Linked DNA regions of Homo sapiens: all the other regions are linked to region 3. Evidence: promoter capture Hi-C in 16 types of primary human blood cells and fetal thymus (Javierre and others, 2016). All regions are on one chromosome and are shown on one strand. The core of a region is centred on a gene start or on the middle of the fragment in contact, and the rest is flanking DNA. Distances in the headings are between cores, read along the strand shown.

Evidence for each region. The method cuts DNA at HindIII sites, captures the fragments that hold promoters and counts their contacts. A CHiCAGO score of 5 or more calls a contact.
Region 1: a fragment that was not itself captured here is called in contact with the fragment with the promoter of HNRNPK-AS1 in region 3 in 2 of 17 cell types (naive B cells and M2 macrophages); the score reaches 7.8 in naive B cells.
Region 2: the fragment with the promoter of SLC28A3 here is called in contact with the fragment with the promoter of HNRNPK-AS1 in region 3 in 1 of 17 cell types (M2 macrophages); the score reaches 6.6 in M2 macrophages.
Region 4: a fragment that was not itself captured here is called in contact with the fragment with the promoter of HNRNPK-AS1 in region 3 in 1 of 17 cell types (M0 macrophages); the score reaches 5.7 in M0 macrophages.

Annotation. Positions count from the first base shown.
Region 1 is chr9:84,310,124-84,315,474 of GRCh38, forward strand. SLC28A3 (solute carrier family 28 member 3) reads right to left here. Exons shown (of 18, transcript NM_001199633.2): 2 at 3,236-3,331. Among named protein-coding and RNA genes, the nearest start is that of SLC28A3, 28 kb to the right of the region's middle. The HindIII fragment of the contact is 7,197 bases long and covers 1-5,351 here.
Region 2 is chr9:84,337,784-84,343,250 of GRCh38, forward strand. SLC28A3 (solute carrier family 28 member 3) reads right to left here and starts at 2,975. Exons shown (of 18, transcript NM_001199633.2): 1 at 2,791-2,975. The coding sequence starts at 2,850. The HindIII fragment of the contact is 9,909 bases long and covers 743-5,467 here.
Region 3 is chr9:83,970,845-83,973,766 of GRCh38, forward strand. It overlaps HNRNPK-AS1 (HNRNPK antisense RNA 1), which reads left to right and starts at 1,251. Exons shown (of 2, transcript NR_186535.1): 1 at 1,251-1,433. It overlaps HNRNPK (heterogeneous nuclear ribonucleoprotein K), which reads right to left. Exons shown (of 17, transcript NM_031263.4): 9 at 2,442-2,555; 10 at 2,000-2,128; 11 at 1,038-1,345; 12 at 828-882; 13 at 429-512; 14 at 53-68. The HindIII fragment of the contact is 2,844 bases long and covers 1-2,105 here.
Region 4 is chr9:84,291,393-84,296,459 of GRCh38, forward strand. SLC28A3 (solute carrier family 28 member 3) reads right to left here. Exons shown (of 18, transcript NM_001199633.2): 9 at 2,803-2,883; 10 at 1,276-1,356. Among named protein-coding and RNA genes, the nearest start is that of SLC28A3-AS1, 16 kb to the left of the region's middle. RefSeq lists enhancers at 2,003-2,062, 2,453-2,532, 4,710-5,067. The HindIII fragment of the contact is 3,950 bases long and covers 631-4,580 here.

The DNA.
Region 1 (5,351 bases), core at 1,363-3,862, 340 kb after region 3:
ACCAAAGCTGGATTTATTTCCCCGGCAGCCCAAGGCTTGGTCTGTGAATATGAACACTAGCTTGGCACCTTCAAGAGCCAATAAGCCTCCCCTTGGGAACTAGGATCCTTTTATCAGTTGGGCTAAAGGGGACTATTTCCCTTACTCAGCTAGCCCTTGCTCTAATTAATTGAGTGTAGGATATCTCTGACCCATCCCATTTTTTCATGGACAATCTTTCTAGGTACAGTTTGAGCTCTCAAATATCCATGACCCATCCTATTTCCAGGATGGCAGAGGATTTCCTACCTGTCTCCAGTCTCCAATAATGTCTCAAATAATAAGCCTGGCTCTTGTAACCAATGGTACAGAAGCTGGTGGGGGAGGAAATAGATGGAGGTGGAGCAGTTTGAGTGTGCTCTAAGAAGTATAATGTCAAATCTCAGCACTTGTCTTCTGTCATATCCAATGTGGCCTTTGATTCTCTTTAACAGAAATCATAGAAATAAATCATTAGTGTGTGTCTGAGATGAAAGAATTCTCAAAAATCCTATAATTCCACGAGGCCAAACTCCATTGTTCTTCTGATTCAGATTACCTTCATTTTCTGGGCTGGACCCTAGGAACAAGGAAGGTGTGAGGATAATTGTAAGAGAGACCAGCTGAGTCCAAGCTGCAGCTTCTGAGGAAGGGCTGGAGTTGAGTCTTATTTATTTATTTCTATCTAATTCCCAGCTTAGCCAATAGTCAATGTTTGGTAAATATTTGATTTAAATGGTCATCATTATTATTTTCTTGCAGTGAAAGTACCCCAAGTTACCTGCTATCTATGGTATATCTAACATTACTATTGTTGGCTCTTATTTTTCCATCTTTTCTCATGTTTTAAAAACAACAACTACAAATCTCCCTTGACTCCCACAATCATGGGACATCTGCACCGCTCTTTCCTTTCACAGCCAGGCCGCTGGAGAGAGTTGTGTTTACTCTTTGGAGGTCACTTCCTCACACCCTGCCCACTTCTCTACCCACTGTGATTGTGCTTCTGCTGAATGCATCCTGCCAATGTCACCCAAGGCCCATTGCTATCAAATCCAGTAGCTACTCCTCAGCCTTCATATCCTCATTTATAATTGAAAAATATCTAAATTTTTGTTTTTATGAAAAAAATATTTTAAAAATATTTTTAAAAGAGCAGTTTTAAGTTCACAGCAAAATGGAGCTGAAACTATAGAGATTTTTCATGTATTGTCTACCCACCCTCACCTTCCCCACTATCAAATGAACCCAGAGAAGTACATTTGTTACAACTGAGGAGCCTACATGGACACATCACCATCACCCAAAGTCTGCAGTGAGACTCTCTTGGTCTTGTACATTCTATGGGTTTGGACGCATGTATGATGGCATGTATCCACCATTGTAGTATCAGGCATACTAGTTTCATGGCCCTAAAAATCTTCTTATGGCCAGGCGTGGTCACTCATGCCTGTAATCCCAGCACTTTGGGAGGCCAAGGCAGGCGGATCACAAGGTCAGGAGATCAAGACCATCCTGGCCAACATGGTGAAACCCCGTCTCTACTAAAAATACAAAAAAAAAAATTAGCTGGGCACAGTGACGGGTGCCGGTAATCCCAACTACACGGGAGGCTGAGGCAGGAGAATCACCTGAACCCGGGAGGTGGAGACTGCAGTGAGCTGAGATTGTGCCACTGCACTCCAGCCTGCTGACAGAGCGAGATTCCATCTCAAAAAAACAAAAAACCCCACACTTCTTATTTGTCCCTACCACCCCCTGATGCCTTGAAAGCACTATTTACTGTCTCCATAGTTTTGCATTTTCCAGAATGTCGTATAGTTGGGATCGCACAATAGGTAGCCATTTTAGATTGGCTTCTTTTACCCAGTAATGTACATTTAAGGCTCCTTCATGTCTTTTCATGGCTTGATAGTTCATTTCTTTTTAGCGCTGAAAGACACTGCATGTCTGAATGTACCACAGTTTATTTATTCATTCACCTACTGAAGGACATTTTGGTTACTTCCAAGTGTTGGCAATTACAAATAAAGCTGCTCTAAACATCCATGTGTAGGTTTTTATGTGGACATAAGTATTGTTTTCTTTTTTGTTTGTTGAAGAATACTTAGTGAACATTTTTTACAATCAATTAAGCAAAATAGACAGTTACCAAACACTGTACTATGCATGGTATGATTCCAATACAGATGACATATGCATGTGGGTGTATGTTTGCATTAAAAAAGGCTGTGTTCCAAAATGTTAGGCACTGACTTTTTTTCTTGAATTATAAGCCTTTTTTGGTTTTCCAAATTTTGCTACAATAAGTTTTCCAAATTGTCTACTTTAAAAAAAAGTGATTCTTTTACCACGAGAAAACTCCTCACAAAATGACACACTAGTGGGCACCCCAAATTCCTTTTTTTTTTTTTTTTTTGAGAATCTCGCTCTGTCGCCCAGGCTGGAGTACAGTGGTGCCATCTCGGCTCACTGCAACCTCTACCTCCTGGGTTCAAGTGATTCTCCTGCCTCAGCCTCCAGAGTAGCTGGGATTACAGGCACACGCCACCACGCCCAGCTAATTTTTGTATTTTTAGTAGAGATGGGTTTTCACCATGTTGGCCAGGCTGGTCTTGAACTCCTGACCTCAAGTGATCCGCCCACCTCAGCCTCCCAAAGTGCTGGGATTACAGGCATAAGCCACCGTGCCCGGCCCTGAATTACCTTTTAAGGGGTGACCTACATGGGTAATTTGTTCACCTTTTTGGCAACAGGAAGCCATCTTTAAATAAACTCCTGTCCAGAATTCAACATGTAAGTGAAATTAAGCAAGAGTCCCTCGGACTGGTATAAAGCTACTAAGGAATGCGAGTGCATGATGGACCCAGATTCAGAACCATAGTAGAGGGTTCCTCTTGTTTCTGTCATTTACGTTAAAGCTCAGATGCTTTTGTCTAAGCCAATGCCTTTTTCCTTGAGATGGAGCTTGGAACTCCTAATAGTGAAGTGATGCTTCCCATCAGGGAACTCTGAGGACAGGTGGATAAAAACAAAATCTCTTTGTTTGGGCGTGTGTGTTTTCTTTACGACTATGCCCCCACACACTTTAATTACCACTTAATCTGTTCCTCTGCGTGCCAGTGGGGCGCCATGCTTTCTGTGCCCACTGTTCTCAGGTGCCTGTTGCGCAGCGGCTGCCATGGTACTAGAGTCATGCACCACAGTCTTGCTGTACCTGTTTGGTGTTTGTGTGCTCCCTGCTTTGCACAGCTCTGCTTCTTATTGAGTTGTTTCCTGATGTGTTCTCGTTCTCAAGAAAGTTTTCTTCATTCTAAGAAAAAAGTGCAGATTGAAAAAATAAAAAGTTACAGCCAAAAGACAGATGTTCTTTCATGAAAAATACCTAGAGGAATTTGGAGGATGAGACAAACAAAGATTAGGTGTTCAGATGAAGCATCCGATTCAACAAACAGCTGACAAATCCTGGGCTTGTAAAGAAACAGATGATCGGCTGGGCACAGTGGTTCGTACCTGTAATCCCAGCATGATGGGAGGCCGAAGTGGGAGGGGAGACCAGCCTGGGCAAAATCCTGTGTCTACTAAAAATATAAAAATTAGCTGGGCGTGGTGTTGTGCACCTATAATCCCAGCTACTTGGGAGGCTGAGGTAGGAGAATTGCTTGAGCCCCAGAGGCAGATCATGCCACTGCACTCCAGCCTGGGAGACACAGCAAGACTCTACCTGAAAAAAAAAAAAAAGAAAAGAAAAGAAAGTAAAGAAAAGAAACATATGACTTTTGCTTTGTTTTGTTCTGATACAAAAGTGGTCCAGGGGAAGAGAGGAATGAGGACAATTGCCCTCATCTCGGCCTGATAACTTTCCAATAGGCAGAGCTGGGACCAGGGGCAGGTTTCCACTCTCCTTTCTATCACATCACACTGATTTTCAACTTATAAAATGAACTAAAACGTGGTAAACCATAGGCTGAATAGCCTTATTCTTAGATGTTAGATTTACGAAATGTTGAAATGGGTTTTTTTTGGTTTAAAGCAATCTCTGGCAGTAATGGTCATAAGAAAAATGCCCTTTTTTGTGTGTGTGTGAGGCTGTCTTGATTTTACTTTAAGGAACTGAACGAGATTTGCTCTTATAGGGCCGTCCGGACCCCTCAGCTGCTGTTTCCAGAAGTGACAAACACTGGACCTGTCTCCTGTCTCTTTTATCTTTTTTGAGGTATCTAATATTTCTCCCATCTCATTTCAACTTGCCGTTTTCTAGAGTGAGGTAATGGATAAATGGTGTCAGGAAATGCCTTCTGTTAGCCCAACGACTATGACTGCATCTTCAAAGACCAAGTGTATGACTCTAATTTTAACTTAGATCTCTGACTGGCCCCAGGAATCCAGCAAATATTGCAATTCCAAGTTGTATTGCATTTTCTACTTACTGAAACACAAGAATGAATAAACATGAAAAAAAAGTTACAGTACAAGATTCATGCATCAAAGTATTGTGCCATACTTCCTTTTTTGTTACAGTTGCTTATATCCTACAGTTCTTTGCATATAGCAGACACTAACAATGTTTTGAATTAATGACCCACAGTAATTTTAATGTTGCATTAGCACAGCAATGTAGTACCCTTGGGTTCTTGGTATAAAAATACAGCATGGGCTGGGTGTGGTGGCTGACGCCCGTAATCCCAGCACTTTGGGAGGCCAAGGTGGGCGGATCACGAGGTCAGGAGATTGAGACCATCCTGGCTAACATGGTGAAACCCCGTCTCTACTAAAAATACAAACATTAGCTGGGCGTGGTGGCAGGTGCTTGTAATCCCAACTACTTGGGAGGCTGAGGCAGGAGAATTGCTTGAACCTGGGAGGCAGAGGTTGCAGTGAGCTGAGATCACACCACTCTGCACTCCAGCCTGGGCGACAGAGCGAGACTCAGTCTCAAAAAACAAACAAACAAACAGCATGAAAAGAAAAAATATACATAGTATGGGAAGATGACAGAATGTTGCTAATTGCTGAAGTTGGCTGACAGGTACCCGGAGAATCATTTTATTATTCTCCTACTTTGGTGGATGCTAAAATGTTCCTTAATACTAAGTTAAAAATAAAACCAAACATGAATTGGTGGAGTAACAGAACACAGGTCACTGAGGGGCTAGTCCTTAGGGTCCCTACTGAGCAGGCCACATTCTCTCAAGCCTTAACTCCCTCATTCATACAACACAGTTTGGATTTGGGGTTCTTGCGGATCCTTACGGAATCCTGACATTTTCTAATTCTATTAGGAGATTCAGCTTCTTGACGTTGATTCCTCCTGCCACCTGGTGGCAGGATCT
Region 2 (5,467 bases), core at 1,725-4,224, 370 kb after region 3:
ATGAGATTAGAAAAAAAAAACCCTAACATTCATTTCTATCGTTGGTTACAAAATCCACTCTCATGTATGAAGTGTGCTCTAGCTGTGAAATCCTTTCTTGGAGGTGAGATCATTTCTCTCTTATAACCCATATCACTGACTTTGTGCTCCTGTTTAACCTTTCCCACTGGAGTACTAGCTCCATGAAAACAGCAATTGGTGCTCCCTTCTTTGAGGAACAGTCCAGATGAGAGCCTGTCCAGGTAATCCATAGATATGCATAACCATTGCACCTGCACCAGGTCTTACAGGCACAGGCCTTTTGGGAACCCATATCAGCATTTCAAGCTGTGAAAGTAGTTCTACTTAGTAAAATTAGAACTTTGGTCTACCAAGGGCACTCTTAATATTTGAAGAAGAAAAATGAATTTCTAGCACAATTCACAGACTAGGACAAGGTGAATAAGTAAGCATCCTAACTTATTTGGAAGTCCTGGTGGCATGTTAATGCATATTTAATAATGCGAGTGAAGTAGCACATATTTTACAATCAATTAATTTTCCTTAAAGAAGATAATGTAGCAGGAGAGCTGAATGTCAAACAAGGTAAGACTCATACTTATTAACTTGGCAGGAGTTATGAGGCCTCTGATTCTCTTGAAAGACAAATTGTCTTCACTATTTTGATTTTGAAATGTAGAAATTCAAATTTCAATCAATCCAATGAGTAAGGATGACAGGAAATTTTACAGAACTAGGAGGAAGCTTCCTTTCATTTTTCCTTCTTTTTATTGGGGCAGGTGTAGGGGGATGTTTCCCCCACAAAACAGCAGTTTTGCTAGAAGACAGTGAGGGATCACCACCGTTGTGTGCCCTCCTCCCTGGGAGCAGCCAGTTGCTGTGACATGGACCTTCTCTATTGCAGATATATTTTCTTGCTGCCATACTTCCTCTGACTCTATCCAATTCCATCCTTTCCATTCTCTGGAATCAGAATGGGCCCATGCTTTATGCTTTTCCCCCTCACTTAGCCCTTAGAGAAGAGATCAGGATGTGCCACCCTCCAAATGCCCACATTTTGGCACAAGAATATTTTGAACTGAAGGCTATGAAAAAGAAAGCAGACACAGAAAGAGCTCTCTGCCCTCCCCCATCCCCCATCTTCCTAAAAGCAGCACATTTATTGATATTTCCCTTGCACAGGTGTCCCGCTTGCTCATACAAGGAAGAGAGCAACCCTTATCACCAAAGACAGAGATGCCGCTGAGATAAATCTGCATGAACAAACCTCGATAAATTAACCCTTATCTTCCATTATTTCCACCTCCCACCCCCACTTTATTGTCCCTAAAAGCATAACCCTCTTTTCCTTTGTCTAGTCATTTCACTATTTGCCGTGCTTTGTTTTAATGGTATATAAGCTCCTGAGTCTATTAGGTTTTTCCGTTTCTTTTATGTGAGGCTCTCATACATGTGAGATTTTATTTTATTATTATTATTTTTTTGAGACTGAGTCTCCCTCTGTCAACCAGGCTGGAGTACAGAGGCACGATCTTGGCTCACTGCAGCCTCTGCCTCCCAGATTCAAGTGATTCTCCTGCCTCGGCCTCCCGAGTAGCTGGGACTACAGGCATGTACCACCATGCCCGGCTGATTTTTGTATTTTTAGTAGAGATGGGGTTTCACTATGTTGGCCAGGCTGGTCTCAAATTCCTGACCTCAAATGATCAGCCCGCCTCAGCCTCCCAAAGTGCTAGGATTACAGGCATGAGGCACCACTGCCAGCCACATGTGAGATTTTAAATATGAATAAAATTTGCGTGCCTTTTCTCCTGCTAATCTGTTTTATGTTGGTTTAATTTGCAGGCCTCAGGCACTCAACCTAAGAGGGTAGATGAAGTTGTTTCCTCTCCTACACTTGTGACCTATAAGTGGTAACCCGATGCCTACTCATGGAGATGGGCATCACTGTGACCATGGGACAGATGATCAAACTTGGGCTCTGGGAAGTTACAGGAATTTGTGGGTGCTGGAGTCTGAACTCCTGTCAAAGCCCTTTTACCTCCCTCTTTCCTTTCTTGGCTAGCACCTCAAAGTTTTGTTTTGCCCATCTAGCAGACCGTAAAGTCCAAGGGATTGTTGACACTTGCCGGTGCAGGCTTCCCATCTTCTCCAGAGCGCCCATGCTGAGTGTCAGCTAAGGAAAGGAAGCACACCTAAAAACAGCCCTGGAAATCCCCATCCCAGACCCAGTCAAAATAGCCTGGTGTTTCTGACAGGTCTCCTTCTATGTCTCTGCGGGCACCCAGCCTCGGGCTGAGCAGCATTAATCACTCAGTGAGTTTTGGTTGATGAAGTGAGACTGATTTGCGTAATCCAGCTGCTCTGGGGCAGGTACCGGGGCCATCTGACAGGGGCTCCAGGACTTGGCTTGAGTAAAAGGAACCCTGAGACACTACCCCAGCCAGGATCTAAATTCCCCCATTTTTCCCTTCTCACCAGTTCTTTGGAAAAGTGCCTGAAGATAAATAATGGACCCCTGCTGTGAGCCAGAAGGGAAAAAAGGCAAGAGAAGAAGGCTGTCTTGTTTCTAAGTGACCATAGGGATCACAACACATCGATTAAAAGAGACTTTTCAGGTTTGTCAACCCAGAAGAGCCCAAGAAGAAAAAATAATGGGCTTAAAGTGTGCCGTTAAAAATCGTATTGTCCTGATAATCTCCCTGCTTAGGTAAGAAACTTGCCAAGGGGCTAAGGAAAGGGCAGCTTTTCCACTGAAGGCCTTTAACATAAGAGGAAAGCTCTGCTCACCTGGAAGCCCACGTTGCTGTAGCCCTCAGCTCTGGGGGCTGCTGTACTCCTCAGCTCCATGCTCTTTTTGCTGCTGGCTGGCTCTGGTCTGGAGGTCCTTTGTACCTGGGAAAAAGCACCAGTCTCTGCTGATGTCAGAAAGCCACCTGCTGTTACAGGGACCTGGGCACAGCTTGCTTCAGTTTGGAAACTTCTGCAATAATCTCCTGAATGACTAGGGCTGACACCTGGTTGGGGTGGGGCAGAGAGGCGGGCGGGTTGGCGGGGTGGAGGCATCTAGTGCTGGCCCGCCCACCTTATTAATCTTTTCCTTTATCCCCATTTTTGGCATCCTATTTGCACTCCTGGGGAGAAAACTCTTGTGGTGCACAAAACAGAAAAGGACACTTTCTTTTTCTTTCTTTCTTTCTTTTTTTTTTTGAGATGGAGTCTCAAAAAAAAAAAGGCTGGAGTGCAGTGACGCAATCTCGGTTCACTGCAACCTCTGCCTCCCAGGTTCAAGCAATTCTCCTGCCTCAGCCTCTCAAGTAGCTGGGATTACAGGTGCATGCCACCACACCTGGCTGACTTTATTTTTAGTAGAGACGGGGTTTCACCATGTTGGCCAGGCTGTTCTTGAACTCCTGACCTCAAGTGATCCACCTGCCTTGGCCTCCTAAATTGCTGGGATTACAGGCATGAGCCACCGTGCCCAGCCAGAAAAGGACACGTTCTCTATAGTGCTTAGTGAAATCCTCTGTTTTCCTGTGGGTGGTGTTAAAGACTAGGAGTGGTGGTGGGGTGGAGGGTGAGTGAACACAGGATATAAGGTCATGCCGCCCTCAGTGATCACCTACTGTATACCAGGGATGGATAGATGGATAGATACATAGACAGATAGGTAGGTAGGTAAGGGTCTTGGCTCTTCTTCCGAACAACTCAAAATTCTATACTGAAGTACAGAAAAGTTAACAATTTGTTTAGTGTCATTTAGCTAATAAAGGGATAATGAGAATTCAAATTCAAGTTTGGTTAATTCCAAAACCTTTTATTACATCCCTGCTTCAGACTGGGCTGCTTTCAAAAATCCAGCTTACAGAAATGCCGATATGTGACAAGTAAATGAAAGGTGACCAGCTATTCAATTATCAAAAGTGAATAGAAGTGCTTTGTTTTCATAAAGCAATTCACTTTGCTTTATGAAAATATTAGCTGTAGAATTCTTTTAAAATAGGGATTTTCCCCCCTAGTACAATTTAAAATACTGCAAAACTGTGGACAAAAGAATGGAAAAGGCCTGGTGCGGTGGCTCACGCCTGTAATCCCAGCACTTTGGGAGCCCAAGGCGGGTGGATCACTTTAGGCCAGGAGTTCAAGACCAGCCTGGCCAACATGGCGAAACTCCATCTCTACTAAAAATACAAAAATTAGCCAGGAGTGATAACGTGCGCCTGTAGTCCCAGCTACTCGGGAGGCTGAGGCGGGAGAATCGCTTGAACCCAGGAGACACAGATTGCAGTGAGCCGAAAACGCACCGCTGCCTCCCATCTGGATGACAGAGTGAGACCCTGTCTCAAAAAAAAAAAAAAAAAGAAAAGAAAAAGAAAAAGAAAAAGTAAGAAAATACCAAGTATTATGAGTGGTTATTTCTCGGTTTTTAATTTTATGGGCAGTTGGTGTTTTTTTTTTCTCCTTCAAATGCTGCTGAGTTTTCTATAAAGAGAATGATTTACTTTTATTATTGTTAACCTAAAGGAAAAAACGGAGACAAACTTAATGTAAGTATAGAGTTTATTTGGTCTAAGTTTGAGATTGCAACTTGGGAGCACATATTCAAGTTGCTCTGAATATACACTTAGTAGCAGTTACAAGTAGATTCTTGTGTGTGTGTGTGTGTGTTCTGTTGCCCAGGCTGGAGTGCATGATCATGGCTTGCTGCAACCTTGACCTCCTGGGCTGAAGCTATCCTCCTGTCTCAGCCTCCCGAGTAGCTGGGACTACAGACAGGTGCCATCACCCATGGCTAAATTTTTTTTTTTTTTTTGGTAGAACTGGGGGCCTCACTATGTTGCCCAGACTTGTCTTGAACTCCTGGGCTCAAGCAATCTTCCCACCTGCCTTGGTTTCCAAAAGTGCTGGGATTACAGGCACTGTGCCTGGCCACAAGTGAATTTTAAAGGAAAAGAAGGAGTTTCTGAGTTGTTTACCAATTATTTACATTAAAATAACATAAGCTATTGATTGGCTATACATTGCTATTTGTATCACACATTCTAGGAACAGAAAGGCAGCCAGTCAGGAACAAAATTCCTTTAAAACAATTGCCCCTGGCCAGGCACAGTGGCTCCCGCCTATAATCCCAGCACTTTGGGAGGCCGAGGCAGATGGATCATGAAGTCAGGAATTCGAGACCAGCCTGGCCAACATGGTGAAACCCTGTCTCTTCTAAATACTACAAAAATTAGCCAGGCATGGTGGCACATGCCTGTAGTCCCAGCTACTTGGGAGGCTGTGGCAGGAGAATTGCTTGAACCCAGGAGGTGGAGGTTGTGGTGAGTCGAGTGGAGGTTGTGGTGAGTCGAGATCACGCCACCGCACTCCAGACTGGGTGACAGAGCAAGACTCCATCTCAAAAAAAAAACAAAAGACAAAAAACAAAAGCAAAAAAAAATTGCCCCCGGGCACAGGGTTGAGTGGT
Region 3 (2,922 bases), core at 1-2,500:
TCATTTAAAAAGTATGAAATTAATGTTTGACTTCACAAAGGAGAGAACTTACCATATCCGGAGCCACCCTAAAAACAGAAAGAAAAAAATAGAAAATTACTTTGCCGTTGTAATTACTACCGGTACTTTAAAAAAATTCATTTAATAAAATGGAGTCTTGCTATGTTGCCCAGGCTGGTCTCAAACTCTCGGGCTCAAGTGATCCTCCTGCCTCAGACTCTTTTGTAGTTGGGATTATGAGTGAGCACCACTGCACCCAGCTTCACTATTCAAGTATTTTAATCTCATAAAATCCCTCTTCAGGAAACCAAAGTCCTCCTGTATCCTATTTTCAGTAAGTATCCTCAGGGGAATAAAAAACTTACTGGAGAGCAGGTAAGCATCTTAAATTATCACTGATATACACACGAACAACTATGATACTCAACCTGTGGTTCATAAGCCATCTGCCATTCTGATGGGCTCCATGTATCTATTGCAGAGTCCCAAGTTTCATCAGCACTGAAACCAACCTGTTAGAGATAAAAACATTAACATGAACCCGCATTGTATTTTGTTATAGAGCTGTTTTTAATATGCCTAATTTGCATGTTACATTAAAACAAAAGAGGGTACATATATAGGCAGCAATTTTGTAATCGAGGGGAACAAAGCTCAATAAAGTCGTAATCCTCCAGCAGCAAATAACAGAATTATTTAACTAGTAATCCAAACAAAATTTACTTGTAAGAAAAACTTTTTAATCACTATAACCTTCAACAAAACGTGAACTACATTGTGACAACCCTCACATACCCAACACACTGGTAATAAACCAAAGTTCTTACCATGCCGTCGTAACGGTCTCCAGGTCTCCCTCTTCTGTCATAGGCCATGAGGTCTCTGCAAGCATAGTACTTGTTGTAATCTAAACGTGCTTACATGCCACACATATCAAATCAAAGTCTACCTTGTCTACCACTAAGTGCAGCCTCTTGCAGGTTAATAATTCATAGATGGGGGAAGAAAAAACAACAACAACAAAAAAAACAACTTACCCCCCTCTAGGTGGTGGTGGTGGAGGAAGAGGAAGATTCCGAGCTCTGCTACCACCCCGGCCGCCTCGTCCGGGAGGAGGGGGAGGTGGTCCTCGACGAGGGCTCATATCATCATAATCTCTTCTAGATGGAGGCATGGGACGCCCACCCCGACCAGGAGGCATTCTGTCAAAACCACCTCTTCCCCGCATGGGAAATCCCACTGGGCGTCCGCGACGGTCATCAAACATCATTGTAAAACCACCATAATCATAGGTTTCATCGTAAAAATTGGGATCATAAGGCTGTGCACGTCCTTTGATGGGAGACTAAAAACAGAGATGGAACAAACTTACAGACTGAAGAAAAAGAGTCCTGCTTCATACCAATCCTTCTAACATCATCATCAAACAAAATGTAAGTCATTCCCCCATCAGGAGGTACTAGAGACAGAAACAGGAATTATGTCAACGCTAAAAGTAGCAAAGTAAAGATTCCAAAGAAATCCAATACTTTTGGCAAATGCTAAACAAAAGTGAGTTCTATTGCCTATACAGGGAGAAGTAATAGCTTGCTCTTACACTTAGATCGTAAGAAACCACAAAGCCCTCCCATTTTACACATGACAAACTACAATGCACATTTCACAACAAGGGCTGAAGAGATCAGTCTTGGCAAGCCTGTAATCCATACTGAGGCACCTGAGATAGGAAGCCCTGCAGCATAGTTACAAAGACACAAGCAACACTATAGGAAATTCATTCAAAGGCTCAAAGGCTATAGAAATACCACCAACAAATTACCACTCTCCACTTTTTCAAAACCATTTTTAAATTAAAGTGATGGCTGAAGCCAGGTGATAGAAAATTGCTAGGGAAAGGGCAAATAAAGACTATTAGACTAAATGCTCTGAAGCTACTTTTGCAGAAGGTTATCACTTTGTTTCATAAAATCAAATGTAAACAAAAAGTGTTCTGAAGTACCTCAGATATAAGATCAAGGATGATCTTTATGCACTCTACAACCCTATCGGGTTTTCCTCCAATAAGAACAACTCTGTCAGTGGAATGAGGACAGCATTCCTGGAAAAGCTTGATGGTGGTTTGAGTGTTCTGTAGTAAGATCATAAAAAAAAATAATAATAATTAGAAGAAAATTAGCTTTCCTAGGTTCAGTGAAAATTGCATTTGAATTCAACAATTAACCCCCCACAATATAAAAACTTCATTAATTATCACAGGGCTTTGCAATGGTATAAAAATTTTGACAAAATAACATGTCTAGCAGTGCCAGACATTTTTTGTCATTTGCGATAAGCAATCTTTGGAGGGAACTGAGAGGGGAAGCGAGAGAAGCTCACAGAAACAAGTCTATATGAAAATTTACTTTCCAGCAAAGAATACGGCAGAATTTTTTTTTTTTTACCTCTCGAAGTTCTTTGATTTTAGCACCTTTGACCCCAATAATTCCTCCTGCTAGACTCTGATGAATCAACAGCCTCAACTCGCAGTCAAAGTCACTTCCTTTATAGTGTTGGTACTGTGGAGGGAGAATTATAAAATTTTAGTCTCAAATCAACAATTCCCCAATACACACTTATCTGCTATAAGCATAACAATAATATACTGTTGCAGTGAGCAACCTGAATTTATATTTCAATAACTTTACCAGTTATGTGCTTATTATCCTCAATAGCCAGGCCCAAAAAGGACATTCTGCACCACCTTAAAAAACTATTTTATTTTCAGGTCCTGCAACACCATACCCACACTGCAGCCATTTAGCATGTCGCTGTTACCACAAAATTATTATTAACATTCAAATAACACCATAATAAAAATGACTGCAAAGCACTTTGCAAATGTAGTTAATTCCCACTGCAGCATGGAGCAGGGTCAACAGTGAG
Region 4 (5,067 bases), core at 1,356-3,855, 320 kb after region 3:
ATGGCATGATCTCGGCTCACTGCAACCTCCACCTCCTGGGTTCAAGCAATTCTCCTGCCTCAGCCTCCTGAGTAGCTGGGATTCCAGGCATACGCCACCATGCCCAGCTAATTTTGTGTTTTTAGTAGAGACGGGGTTTCTCCGTGTTGGTCAGGCTGGTCTCAAACTCCCGACCTCAGGTGATCTGCCCGCCTTGGCCTCCCAAGGTGTTGGGATTACAGGCGTGAGCCACTGCGCCCAGCCGTAAGCATAGTCTTTAGAGTAGAGGCCCGTGCTTCTTGTTGGCTTACCAACAAGAAGTTTCAGCCTGCCAGGAGCAGTTGTAAGCCTGGGATTTGGGGCTATGTGTTTTTCTGAGTGACTTGATTTTTGCTTCAAATTCAGTTTCCTTGGGCAGTGGTGCTGGCAAGCGTTCATACCTGGTTTTCGTGGCGTGTGACTCCATTCTGCCTGAAGCTGCATATCTGGAGTGATGAGGGGCTTATTACAATTTCTTACTGATCCACCCCTTAGCCATGCTGCTATTTTGAGGGACACTCCTTGGCATGATATTTATTTGCTTAAATGGGCTTCAGGCAAAAGAGCGTTTCTCCATGTGATGGAACAGGGAGGTGAAAATTGAAGTCTAAAAGCTTATTTTTGATGAGAAGAGAAAAACCTAAAAGCATTTTTCTTCAGGCTCAGCAAAGACAGAATATTGGCCAGTTCAGACAAGTTGAGAATAAGCTCAAGTATTTACGCAGTTGCATGGTTGTTGGTGGAAAGGCTTTCTTGGTCTCCTCCATTGCCACAGGCATTATAGTTTAGAATGGGAGGCTGTTTGTAGCTTGGAGATTTCGAGATAGTGAAATCCATTCAAGTGGAAGAGCTACCAGCCTCTGAAGAGTTGACCAGAAACCTCACAATCACTAAATTCAGATTTATTGAGAATCTATATGAGAAGCTCTATGTCTATGCCTTAATAAAATGACAACCTTCCATCCTCTTCATAAACATTCTCAAGAACCCAATTCTACATACCATACCCAGACTGTTAAAAGGAATTTCTCTCTGTGTCTCTCTGTCTCTCTGTCTCTCTCTCTGTCTCTCTCTCTCTCTCTCTCTGTCTCTCTCTCTTCTCCCCCTGGAATCCGGACATTGCCAATACTGGGGGTTTCTTATTTTGACACCATTTTCTCTACACTAAAAGAACATTGTGTTATTTTCTTATTTGGCTTTTTGGAAAGAGACGATCCATTTCAACAGATGTTTTGTTCTGTTGATATTACAACTTACTTGTCCAACAAATATATTGCCAGAAGCAACTACAGATTCAATAGGAGATGATCCCGTAGTAACTAGCATGATCCATCCAACCTAAAAGGAAGAAAGGGACAAAGTCAGCAAAGAACTTTTTGTATACCCAAAACTTCAAAGTAGGGATTAAAATCCTTAAACTGGTGTAAAATATTGAGGGCTTCAACATTTGTCAGCAAGCTAATGATGGAGCTAAAGGTAAGTTTAACTTATTGAGCCCCTAGAGCAGGCCAAGCAAATCCTCTTATTGGAGTAGTAAGTCTGAGTCATTGCGTATACTTTGAACATTATACAAATCAATTTCTATAGGTCTATTGTATACAAGTAATAAATGACAATTGCTAACATGCTTATGGAAGGCTTTACTGCATTCCAGGCACTGTGTTAAGCCCTTGACAGTCCAGAAAATGCAATTAATTCTTACAATAACTCTTTGAGAGAGGTCCTATGTAATTATACTCATTTTATTAAAGAGGAAACCAAAGCACAGAACAGTTTAGTTGTTTTGTCAAAGGTCACCCATATGTAGCAGGATGTATTTGAGGTTTGGTCTTTTTTACTTAATTGAAATGAACGTGGTTTTTGGTTCCACTTTTGTACTGGCCTTTCAACTAGAGATGGTGGATGAGGACTTCCTGTTGCATTCTCTCTCCTTGCTTTTTAGTTTAGACAAGAGCATAACAATTCTGAATGTTTTGGGGTTTAAACAGGAAATTATGGGCCCTGGAGTTCTTGCTGTCATTCTGAACTCTGCTACTACCTGTATTCTGGTTCCCTCTCTCTCTTCTCTTCCTTTTTGTACATTTTGATTTATTTATTGGGATCAAGGAGGGCTGGGGCTGTGCCCCAAGCACTGCCTGCACTGCTCTGTGCTCGTGTGTGGTGCATCCAAATTAGCTGACGGAGCTCCTTGTCCTCTGATCTAACACATGAACATAGGACTCATTGAGGCTAGGGCAGCAGGAAGGACATGAACTCTTCAGCTGTGTGTGTGTATGTGTGTGTGTATGCATGCACGCTCATGCTTATGAAACTCCCTCAGGAGTGAAAAGCTGTTTCTCCTTTTTGCTTCAATTTCTCTAGCACCTCCAAAACCAGAAGTGTCTACTTTTGTAACCTCCTTAAGCAAGGTAGCATACAATTAAGGAGTAGCTTAAAAAAGAAAAAAAGATAAGCACAGGGCGGTTAACCAAGATGAAGGAATAACATCATTTCCCCCAGCAGTATCTGACCTCAATTCCTCCGCTAAAGAAGTAACTGCTATAGTTTCATGAAGATATCCAGTGCTTTGCAAATCAAAACCCTATTAGAAGCTCCTGAGATAAAATTCCCTCCATGGACACATTTAGGATTGGAGGTTTTGAATCTAATCACTTAGGTGGTGATGGTGGATAATGGTAGGAAGAGAAAGGCACTTCGTAAATACCTGCATAAAAGGCCTTGAGGACTTCGTGCCTGAGATAATCAGCTCTACACCTATAACCCAGTCCCTCCCAGCCCCAGTACCTTTCTAATAATCCACTGCATCAGTCCCAGGTAGTACAGCATGGACATCACAGTGCTGAAGAAAACCACGATCGGCAGGACCTGTGGGGACAGAAACAAACATGGATTAATGATGGGTCCAGCTGCACCAGCAGGTTTTATATCAGGCCTCCTCTCTGTCTCCTTTTCTCCCTCTGAAACATCATAAAAATATGGGAAACTCCTCTTGAACTTTAATCAGGCAGCTTCCCTATCTACAGTCTTTTATTCTAATTTGTCACAGGACTTTGACTTTTTTCCCCTGTCTTCTATGGTGAGCTTTTTTTGCTCAAAGAAGGAATGAAGTTTGGGGGGATTTGTAATACCTAGATCAATACACTGAAGGCTGTCAGAAAATATTCTTGTCCTGGTGCTAAAAAGACATGGGCTTCACCACTAGTTAGCAGAGTAACCTAAGTTGAGATAAATTGTGAGCAACCTCAGAGCCTTATTCTGAGTAGCTGTAGAGATCAGGTAAGGCATGGTAGGTGCTGACACATAGTGCCTCCTACTGGATGGCAGACACACCTGACAGCAATAACTTCAGCATGTCCTGAGAATGACCCTATGGTCTAAGCGTGTGTGTTTGGAGTTCCAAACTAAGGAACCTGGGAGCGGCCATTCCAAAGATTCATTCCTTATCTATAAGGAATATCTGAACCCTTGGCCCATTCCGTGGAAAGCAGGCCATATGGGGGATCCAGGCCCTTTGTTTTGGGTTAAATGAAGGTTGGGAGGTGGAGGTTGCTGGGGGAGGTTACTAAGTGAGAATGCTATATAAACTGCCTGCCTTTTACAAACAGTAGCGGTTCTCCTCTCTAGCCTGCTGCCACTGGACTGCCCTGCATGTGAGTCCCCCTCAATAAACCCTATGTCTCATTTGCTGGCTCCAGGTCTTTTCTTTGGCCGCTCAAACATGGTGCCCCCCCTACTGAAGTCAATAGGGGTCTGTCATGACCTTATGCAGTAAACATTCATTCTTCTAGCTTTTAAAATAATAGTGATTTTACCTATAGATTTTCAAATTACTAAAAAGTGACTGCATTTTGGAAGCTACTTTAGTTCTGTGTTAAAGGCCATTGTATTTTCCAGCTGGGCTCGGTGGCTCACACCTGTAATCCCAGCACTTTGGGATGCTGAGGCGGGCGGATCACCTGAGGTCAGGAGTTTGAGACCAGCCTGGCCAACATGGCGAAACCCTGTCTCTACTAAAAATACAAAAATTAGCCAGGCGTGGTGGCACACTCATGTAATCCCAACTACTGGGGAGGCTGAGGCAGGAGGATTGCTTGAACCTGGGAGGCAGAAGTTGCAGAGCCGAGATTGTGCCATTGCACTCCAGCCTGGATGGCAGAGCAAGAGTCCATCTCACAAAAACAAACAAACAAACAAACAAAACAAACAAACAAAAAACCATTGCATTTTCCTAGATCCTATTTTCCTGATGCTCTTTGGGTGCCTTCAGTGCAGCCAATGTTTCCACAGAGAGCAGTTTCTACCCTGCATAGACCACAAAGAGCTGTGGGCTGGGTCCCTCCTCAGCCTCATCCTACTGTACCCCCTCCCTACTGTTCCCCGGCTAACTGGCCAGAGAAAGCTGCTACCAGAGGCACAGAATGACCGAGGACAATTTGTACAGGATCTAATTTAGAAAAAAATCCATTAATAATATATATTAAAAGACATTTTGTGCCAGTATTCAGAGCTCACTCACGATGAGCCTTTTATTGGCTTTAATGGGTAGGCAGTGCCTTCCTGAAAGCTTGAGGGAGTTAAAGAGGCTCATCTCTGGAATGTTAGCAGAGGATTCTGCATTGGCAGGAAAGAATAGGGGCCACTGCCCTGGAAGAGGGGAGGGGGAAGGCCTGAAAACACCTGTATAGTCTGGGTAGCAAGTTATTCCTTCTTTATGACTTTATTTTTTCCAATTCTGAATTCGTTTCATGATATGAGTATATTTCTATCTCACTCTATAAACATTTGGCCTTTCAGAGATGGCTGAGTTATCTCAGCCCTAAAACATCAAACCAGCTAAACTGCCAGGTAGAGGTTGCTGGGGGAGGGTGCTAAGTGAAATGCTGTATAAACTGCAGGCTTCTTACAAACAGCAGAGGTTCTCTTCTCCAGCCTGCCACTAAACTGCTGGTTTAACGTTTTAGGCTGAATCTTTTTTCAGCCTAAAAGTTGGCCTAACTGAAGCTGGGGTAATTTGGAGGTAAATTTGGAGTCTCTAAGTGAGAAAACAAT